Linked DNA regions of Homo sapiens: all the other regions are linked to region 1. The links are contacts of gene promoters, found by promoter capture Hi-C in blood cells and fetal thymus (Javierre and others, 2016). All regions are on one chromosome and are shown on one strand. The core of a region is centred on a gene start or on the middle of the fragment in contact, and the rest is flanking DNA. Distances in the headings are between cores, read along the strand shown.

Region 1 (3,276 bases), core at 343-2,842:
CCAAGTCACTGGCAGCGCCCAACAGGAAGCCTCCGCTTCTGGAGGCCTCAACCCGTCTTAGATTATCTGAAATCTTAACCATAACGAATTAGGCCCGAATCATTCAAGGCCAGCGGTGTTGGGAAGCCCATGATCCAGCGCGGGGGGCATCCCAAATATATTCACTGAGTCTCGGGAGCCGTCCAGGGACTCTCAGAGCTGGGTCACTACCTGGGACCAAGCCTGAGGCTGGTCCTTTAGGTCAAGGCAGGTCCCGACCCGCCTCCAACTTCAAATGGCCCCCTAGGCGGGAGAGGGTCACTGGGCGGGGAGTTCCTGGCTGTGCGGTCACACACACACACACCGACTCACACACACACCCACAACACCCCCCCCACACACACACACTCACACACACACCGACGACACACCACACACACATACATACGCGCGCGCGCACACACCACACACACACACACACACACACACACACACACACGCCGCCTCGCGCGCGCTCGCGGCACAGCACCGACTTCCCAACCCCAAACACACGCGCGCACCCCCGGGACAGCTGAGTTCTGTATTTCCTCTTCCTCAAAGCGACTCCGGCGATCGCAGTCGCCACTCTCCGCTCCGATTCCCGGGCCCCCTGGCATGCCGCCGCCCCCTTCTCTGAAGGCGCGCCCGGTGCGTCCCCTCTCCGAAGCCGAGATTTCCACGAAGCTCCACAAAGCTCCCCGCCGCCTCTCTCGGTCTCGGCGGAGACCCCGGTGTGTCCCCGGGAGGAGAGTATTTACTAACCAGAACCTCAGGGGCTCCCGGCTGCCCAGACCGCCCTCTCCGGCCCTCCTGGCCCCCATTCCTCTGGCCCATCACCGCCCCCTCCCACGAGCGCGCTCGCCGGGGGATTCCCTCCCATCCCCGAGTGCAGGAGAAGACGCCGAGTCTGAGCCGCAGCCGCTTCTCTAGCTCTATAGGAATCTTGACTCCAAGATCCCAGCCCCACATCCCCCGTCCCCAGTAACCCCGCGCCAGCGTCGCAACCCTCCCGCGCCCCCCCTCCCGCAGACCCTGGTCGAAATGTCTCGGCGGGCTCCCGGGCCCCGGGCCCTGCGCTTCATCCGCGGGCGCCGCACCTCCAGCGCCCCCTCCCTCCGCTCCCACTCCCACTCCCGCCATCCCCGGAGCTCAGACTTCCCCAACTGCAGAGCGCCCCGACGCGCCCGCAGCCCTCACCCTGCCGAGCGCGGCGGCCACCCCCGCCCGAGCCGCGGCGCCCCCAGGGAGGAAACAAAAGTGTCTCCGCGGCGCCCGGAGTCCCCCGGAGCAGGACGCCTCCTCCCGGCCCCAGTCCCGGCCCCCTCCCCTGCCGCGCCGAGGTCAGCGAGTCGGGGCGCGGCGCCAGCCCAGGAAACTTTACGAACCTGCTTGGGGTCGCAGGACAGCAGCGGCAAGGGTTCCCGGCGATCAGAGCTCCGGCGACCCGCCACCATTGAAGGGGAACTGGAGGCTCTGTCGCCCAGCGTGGGGCCGCGGCGGCGTGGGTGGCTCTGCCTCTATCCTGTGCCCATCCTCGCCCGCTCCCGCTCGCCCCAGCACACGCACTTACACTCTGGGTCGGCCGGCTGCTGCACCGCCGGCTGCCGCTGCTCTCACTTCCTCTTCCTTCCTCCTGCTGGCCAGAGACACATTTTGCATCTGCAAGGCATCCGGAGATCAGCCGCGAACTCTCCTCCCGAGCGGACGCTGCGGAGTTGCAGCCGCCGCCCCCGGCACCTGCGCCAGGACACTCGTGGTCTGCGCGTTCGCCTTGCGCCCGCACCCTGCCTGGTCCCTGCCCACTGCACTTTGCCTAGGGGGATGCCCACGACTTTTTGAAGTCCCCCTACTTAAAAGACAGAAATGTCAAACACCATGCATGCCTCAGATCTGCTATAAATAATATGTGTGCAGAGCATGACTTCGATGAGCTCACACACGGCGTTTGGAGGCACTAATTAACTCCGTCACCCTCATAGCGCCATCTCCGGGAGGCCAAAAGCGAGTAGCATCTTTTCACATCCTTTTTTAATTTTTGGCAACCGGTTCCGGATATTAAGGGGAAACTTCGGTGGGCTGTTTGAACGCTACTTTAAGACGTGTTTGTTTTGACGCTGTGCCTCTACCCTTGGACAGAGTGGCAAAAAAAAAAAAAAAAAGTTTCCTCCCTCTCCGTCGACATCTATGTATTTACTAACCCTGCAATTGAAACTACAAGATGTATTTCTAACCAATTAAGCCAGGGACTTCCTAATTTTGCATAACTTTGCATAAGGCAAGACGTTCCACCCATAATTTGATATTTAGAATAAATTACTTAATTCATGCAACCTACTTAAATCATTTTCAAAGCAGAAATCAAAAACGTTAACTCCCAGCCTAGCTGGCAGGAGGGAAGAGGGTTGCAGGCGAACCACCTGTCCTCCCCCAGTTCAGAAATACCTACATTGGCTCTACCGGAAAAGTCAAAGGCAGTTCGGCATTTTCTTCTAATTGGCAAAGGAAATAAGTCGGGGGCAGGGAGGCATCAGAATCAAGGTGGAAAACTAAGCTCCCTTTTAAGATCTTCCCCCTCAAGAGCCACAGGCAGCTGTTGAGCACTTGAAATGTGGCTATCCCTGAGATGTTCTGTAAGTGTAAAACAGACATACAATTCAGTATTTTTAAAATGAATGTAAACTAACTTGTTAAGTATGTTTATGTTGATTACATTATTGCAATACATGAGAATAGTCTGATGTAGTAAGTCAGTTGGATTCGTCATGTGTTGGGTTAAGATATAAGCATATATAAGATTAATTTCACCAGTTTCTTTTTACATTTTCTGATGTAGCTACTAGAAAATGTAAGGCTACACATAGGCTCTCATTAGTGGCTCACCTTATACTTTTAATGAACAGCTCTGATCTAACTCCTTATTATACGCATGACTCTGGGAGGCAGTATTAGTATCAAGAGTGCCTGGGTCCAGATGGTTATAAGCCAGTAACTAAAGCAGGGTGACTGCAGGAAAGCAACTTAACTTCTGTATTTCCTCATCTATAAAACAGTAATGATATAATAACAAAAGTCAATAGCACCAACTATTAAATGAAGTAATTTAATAAGTAGTCAGTAAATGGAGCCTTTACTAACGATGCTCTGAGACACTTGTAGTGATAAGTATGAATTTGATCTACAACCTTGTAGCTAAGGCATATAAAGACCTTAACTTTAGTGCATGCGTGGTGAGCACTCAGTAAACATTAGCTGTCATAA
Region 2 (3,276 bases), core at 453-2,952, 1.1 Mb before region 1:
AGAAGACTATACGACAATGAAAAGAAAACTGACGTTGTAAGCAACAATATGGATGTATCTCAGACAATGTTGAGCAAATGAAGCCACATCAAAAGATTTTATAGTGTATAATTCCATTTATATGTACTCCAAAACAGCAAAACTAATTTATGGTATTAGACGTCAGAATAGCAGTTACCTTTGAGGGATGAATCACAATCTAGGAGGATACCAGGAAACCTACCAGGTGCTGGAAATGTTCGCTATCTGTTCTGGGCAATGGTTATGTATGTACAAAGTCATTGGGCTGCACATTTAAGACTTGTAGACTTTATTTAAGTTACACTTTAATTTTTTTAATGGTGTATAAAATCAGTATCCTTAAAAACATATTTATTGCTCAATTTGTCTGCACTATAACAGATAATCTATTAACTATAGTATCTCTAAATTCAATAGCAACCAATGTAGTTTATCGACTGTATGAAAATGAGACGAAAGGCACTGCTAATGTCATTCAGGAATTCAGAAACTTGACTGTACTTTAGGATTCTTAAAAATTTCACAGCCCCAGGTAAGAGCAATTCAGTGCTGCTCTATTAGTAACTTATAATGGGACACTGTTGTTTTGGGGTCAGAAACTTGTGTGTTTGTTGTTTTTACAGTTAGAAATACAGAGTAGTCTAGATACCCTTGATGGTGATGGTTGTGGTAAGAGTGAGCATTATACATCATCTAAAATAACACTAAATGTGCCAGAAACAAACTTTCCCATGGCTTTCCCTTGGGATGGACAAAACTCCTAACCATGGTCTATGAGGTCACTCTTGGTCAGATCCTTCTGCCTCTGCAGCCTCACCTCACACTGTGTTCCTCAATTTCTCCACTCCAGCCTTCTCTCACTTTGACCATATCTCATACTCACTATGCTCTCTCCGAACATACTTCTTCACATGCTGCTCCCTGTGTCTGCTGGGCCCTTCTATCCCTCTCTTTGTTAGATTAATATCCACTCATCTTTCAGTTCAAATAGCACTTGGTCAGGAAGCCTTCCTTAACTTTTTCATTTTAGACCCTCATAACACCTTGTATCTCTTCTTCGAAGTACTTTATCATGGTTGCAGGTTTATATTTGTTGTATGACAGACTTCGTCAACAATGAAATTATAAGCTCTTTTACAACATACATCTGTGTTTGGTTTTGCTTATTCACTGTCCTGCTTATGAAAGGGGGGCCAGAGAGGTAGACAAGGGAAGAGAATATTTGAGAGGAAAGAAAGGGTAAAAGACTTAGTTGCCTGACGGTTGAGGAAAAAATTATCCCAGGAAGGTAAAAGAAAAATGAAACAATTAGTGATGTTGAAGACAACATGGTAGGTACCTGCTGCTGTAGGACAAACAGGAGCTATGTGCCTAGGTATATTCAACCTGTATGGCCTAACGATGGCCTTAAGACTTTCATTTCCAGTATTTTTAAACATTCATCTTTGATATAAAGACACTTCATTTCTGGAATGACTCATTAATCTCTCCTTATATCACATACAAAATAAAGCCGATAGGCAATCATAAATGAACATAATCTTATATGGTTTCTCACAGCATTTTGTTAATGAATGAACTAGATGCGTTCTATTTTGAAAACAACAAATTTTTATTCAAGTGAAATATGATTTTCCCAGGTAAAAATTATTACATACTTGCCTGTGATTAAAAATCTAAAAACCAACAGTTGAGCAAACCATCGGATAATGTCACACTGATATTACATGAAATCTTGATGTTGGATTTTGTGGCTCAAATCAGTGTACAGTCACTATAATAGTGAGCTGATTTTCCTAGCAGTTGACAACATGGACTTTGGAATGGAGTTGTCTGGTATGAATCTTGGCTCTGTTTATTAATAGCTATTACCCTGACCAAGTTACATAACTTCTTTGTGCTACAGTTTCCTTATCTGTAAAATGGGATAATAATAATGCATACTTCATAGTATTATTGTAAGGATTTTAAAAGTGAATATGTGTGAAGTGCTGAGAACAGTGCTGGACTATAGGTAAGCAGCCTTTGTTAACTATTATTAGTATCACATTAAATATTATATTCAGCTCCTATAGAAACACCGCATGGAAAAATGTACATAGGGAAATATTCTGAATCATTAAATTTGAATTCCAAGGCAAATTTCATGTTAATAAGGTAATTAATCTATATTTTAGAATCAAGATTTTAGTGGCTTTGGTATAATAAACCCTTTTTTTTTTTTTAAATCCCGGAAGCTAAAGTAGAATCTTCTTCTTCTTTTTTTTTTTTTTGTGACAGGGTCTCACTCTGTGGCCAAGGCTGGAGTGCAGTGGCAATCCTGACTCACTGCAACCTCTGCCGCCTGGGCGCTCAAGTGATACTCCTGCCTCAGCCTTCCAAGTAGCTGGGACTACAGGCGCAGGCCATCATGCCCGGCTAATTTTTTAATTTTTTGTAGAGATAAGGTTTTGCCGTGTTGCCCAGGCTGGTCTTGAACTCCTGAGCTCAGGTAATCCGCCTGCTCTCCGCCTCACAAACTGCTGGGATTACAAGTGTGAGCCACTGCACCCAGCCTCAGAACCTTCTTCTTTAAAAGGCCATGAGAAGTCAAAAAAACCTTTTCTGATTTGATTCCATTTTTAAACAGCATAGATAGCATATACTAATAAGTCAAAAGTGGGTAAGATATTATATAGGAAGGATTTCAGAAACAAGTAATTGCTTCATTCCTGAAATATAAAATGAGTCTGTTCTATATTTGTAACGACTTTTAGAGCTGAAAAAAAAATGAACACATTTCCATCAGTACTCTTACCACAATCAAGTTCTGCTAACCAGAAAGAAGAACATGGCCATCTCAGATATCAATGAATCGTGAGGGAATGACCAGGGGAGAGGAGGGCATGTTTTCAGCTTAACTCTCTACATGAAGTTTCTGGCTGTCCAAACTGGGTTTTTCTGATATCGCAGTGAAATGCTGGGCACAGGGCTCTAGAATTATTTCAAGCAGTTAAGTATATTTAAGAGAGAAAGTAGTCTGAAAAATGACCCAGTTATTTTTAAAGGAATTGTAAATTAGAGGCTTGCATGGTCTCAAATGGCTATTTGAACTTTATTGTACTATAGAAATTCACTGCCAAATTGTCTACCTCAGGGTTTGCAAACATACAGGGTTGGATTCATAAATGTACTGCCACTAAATTATAGGAAGGGAAATGAGACAAGAGGAGTGGGTCTACTACTTTCTAAAGTATCTCTTCTCAAACTTCTAAC
Region 3 (3,276 bases), core at 329-2,828, 1.1 Mb before region 1:
TAGCTGTAGCTTGTGGAGCAGGAGGGTTAGTCAGTGTCTGATGGAAGATGAGCTGCAATTGTTTTAATATTTATTGCTTATCTCAAGGTCAGTGCTTGTTCAGCTACTAGAGTAAAAGAAAAACTTTGGCAGTTAGAAGATAGTTTATTTTTTAAGTGTAGGGAGTTTGTGACTTAACCCTTGCCTGGCATGGCCTTAGGTCCTAGTTATTTGTTTACAGACAGGGTCTCACTCTGTTACCCAGGCTGGAGTGCAGTAGCGATCACAGCTCACTGCAGCCTTGAACTCCTGGGCTGAAGTAATCCTTTTGCTTCAGCCACCCCACCCCCCAGGTAGCTGGGACTACAGATGTGCCCCACCATGCCTGGCTAACTTTTGTATGTTTTGCAGAGACAGGATCTTGCTTTGTTGCCTAGGCTTGATCCTGTTTATAATTTGATATCTTATTGCTACAAAGAGTCTTCTGTCAGTCTTATGATCTCTATTTAACATTAATGCTCATCAGTTATTGTGTTTAAACAGCAAAAGGAGGGGTATAACAAGGTGCATGCGGCCTCCTGTTCCATCATGGCTGAGAACTCGGTTTTTAAGGTTTCTCTGGGGTCCCCTTCATCAAGAGGGGATCTGTTCAGTTGGTTGGGAGGATTAGTATTTTATTTTTAGTTCTCATATTGTATCATGGGGGGAAATTATCGGACATATATGGATTTGTGAAACAATATGCTTATTCTTGAATTTGTTGAAGGACTTTTATTTAGCGGGTGAAGGTCTTGTATTTTGGAAGCCATTTGGTTCATAAATTATTTTTTCAGTGATTAGAGCATTTCAATTTAGTGTCACTTTTTTCAATGAACTTTAAATTAGAAATCATTCTTAAGAAGAGTAGAGAGTGTGCCTTCTTTCAAATTTAGCTCATATTTCTTTTACATACTCAGATTTTTAAAAAATTGTTACTGTATTTTAAGGAATTAAAAAGAGTCAAATGGAATTTAATTTTTCAGCCTGCACTAACTACTGTATCTGAGTATGCAAGGCAGTAATAATAATCTGCATACCTCCTTTAGTTGTGTGCATTTGAAAGAAAATGAATTGTTTTACAGGGTCTTGTGTTTGAGCTTTACTAAAATTGACTTAAAAATAGGAACATCAGTTGATTTGGAGTAGAAAGGAGTATTCATGACTTTATGGAATGGCTAAGATTTCAATTTAAAACCATTTTATTATATGTTAATATTTAGTTAAATAAAACATAAGATTATTTTGTTTTTCTTTCCTCTTAGGAAGTGTTTTATGTTTTCAAAGGACTAATATGTTATTTATCTCTTGCTGCTTACCACCACCCCAGATTTTAGTGGCTCTATTAGTTTTGCTGCTGTAACAAGTTATCACAAATTTAGTGGCCTAAAATAACATATTCATTATTTTACAGTTCTTTAGAGACAGGGTCTCACTCTGAAATCTGAAATGGATTTTACTGTGTTAAAATCAACATGTCAGTGGAATTGTGTTTCTTCTGGAGGCTGTAGGGGAGAATCTGTTTCCTAACTTTTCTTGTTTCTAAAGGCCATCTGTATTTCTTGGCTTGTCCTGTTCCCCCATCTTCAAAGCCAAAAATCACATTACTCTGACCTCTGCTTCCATGGTCATATTTTCCCTGACTCTGATCTTCCTGCCTCTGTGTTTTCCATCATAAGGACCTTTGTGATTATGTTGGGCCTGACCAGATAATTCAGGATTATCTCCATCTAAAGATTCTTAATCACATCAGTAAAGTCTCTTTTGCTCTGTAAGGCAACATATTCAGAGGTTTAGGGTATTAGGACAAAAAATCTTTGAGGGACCATTATTTTGCCTACCATAGTGGCTTAAAACAATACTCTTATTTCTCATGATTCAGTGGGTCAACAATTTGTATTGTGCTCAGCCGGGCTGTTCTTCTGCTTGTCTCTGCAGTGGTCATGCAGGAATCTTCAGTGATCTGGCAGATTATCTGGAGCTGGATGGTCTAAGGTGGCCTTATTCATATGTTTGGTAGTTGATACTGACCATCACCTGGGCCATGTGTCTCCTCTAGTAGACTTAACCTGGGCATGTTCACTTAGTGGCAGAGAGAGAGAGAGACCCCAAACTGTAAAATCTCTTGATGCCTAAAAGTCTCACAATATCACTTGTACCATATTTTATTGGTCAAAGCAGATCACAAGGCCAGCCCAGATTCAAGGGTGAAGAAATAGATTCTGTCTTTTGATGAAAGCAGAAAAAATTTGTGGCCGTTAAAAATCTTATATAACTAACTTTACATATTTTATTCCTTCTGTAATATTCCTGTAATAGTTATGACATTGGGGTACTCATTTAGTGAATCTTGACATAATTGCTTAGGATTTCACTTTTGAAATGTGTTTAACTGTCATCCTGTATGGCAATTGGTGATTTTAGAAGATACTGCAATTTTATGAACCTTTGATTAAACTTGTGTTTTAACACTGATATATTTATTTATGTAGAAACTGCTGGAGCGAACCCGTGCCAGGCGAGAGAATCTTCAGAGAAAAATGGCTGAGAGGCCCACAGCAGCTCCAAGGTCTATGACTCATGCTAAGCGAGCTAGACAGCCACTTTCAGAAGCAAGTAACCAGCAGCCCCTCTCTGGTGGTGAAGGTAAAAGACTTTGTGGGGAAAAATAACATTTACTTTTTTTTTCTTTTGAAGGAGACAAGCCCCAAACATTTCATTAGCATATAGAAGAACCAAGCTCTTTGGGAGACAAATGTAACAGCCTCTGGGGGAAATAACAGCCTTCTATTCTATTTCAGAGTTATTATATTAGGCCTAGAACCTATAGGGTTGGAACGGTTTCTTCTAAAAAATATTTTAAATTAATTGATTGAACTTTATTTTCTTCATTCTGAAGTTATCCTTAAAACCTCAAGGGAAGAAAAATAAAGGAGTAGGGTAACATTTATACTTACAGTAGTGTGTAGTTTTTTTATCCCAGGGGTGGCAGAACAGCTGGCCACTGAGTTTGGGTGGTGTCTCCGGTACCAGCAAGGCAATGGAAGGCACACTGCCCATGCTTGACATTTAATGAACCCTTTTCACTCTCTATTTGCTGAACCAACTCTCTAAAGTTTAGGTTGTTAATCTCCAGAAGTGGTGGAATTAAACACAAGCACACACACACATACACACAAACAAAAACTCACCTGTAGTCTTACTCTTTCCTCAATCCTAGGATTGATTCCCAGCCAGCATCAGACAGCCTCCTTAGTCTTT

What was found. The method cuts DNA at HindIII sites, captures the fragments that hold promoters and counts their contacts. A CHiCAGO score of 5 or more calls a contact.
Region 2: a fragment that was not itself captured here is called in contact with the fragment with the promoter of ELMO1 in region 1 in 3 of 17 cell types (total CD8 T cells, total CD4 T cells and fetal thymus); the score reaches 6.0 in total CD8 T cells.
Region 3: a fragment that was not itself captured here is called in contact with the fragment with the promoter of ELMO1 in region 1 in 4 of 17 cell types (naive CD8 T cells, total CD8 T cells, total CD4 T cells and 1 more); the score reaches 7.2 in naive CD8 T cells.

What each region holds. Positions count from the first base shown.
Region 1 is chr7:37,447,272-37,450,547 of GRCh38, forward strand. It overlaps ELMO1 (engulfment and cell motility 1), which reads right to left and starts at 1,593. Exons shown (of 22, transcript NM_014800.11): 1 at 1,404-1,593. RefSeq lists silencers at 1,233-1,282, 1,293-1,342. The HindIII fragment of the contact is 5,071 bases long and covers 1-3,276 here.
Region 2 is chr7:36,361,812-36,365,087 of GRCh38, forward strand. The region is part of intron 1 of MATCAP2 (microtubule associated tyrosine carboxypeptidase 2); the gene reads right to left. Among named protein-coding and RNA genes, the nearest start is that of MATCAP2, 3.8 kb to the right of the region's middle. The HindIII fragment of the contact is 6,130 bases long and covers 1-3,276 here.
Region 3 is chr7:36,393,759-36,397,034 of GRCh38, forward strand. It overlaps ANLN (anillin, actin binding protein), which reads left to right. Exons shown (of 24, transcript NM_018685.5): 2 at 2,508-2,661. Among named protein-coding and RNA genes, the nearest start is that of ANLN, 5.5 kb to the left of the region's middle. The HindIII fragment of the contact is 5,776 bases long and covers 1-3,276 here.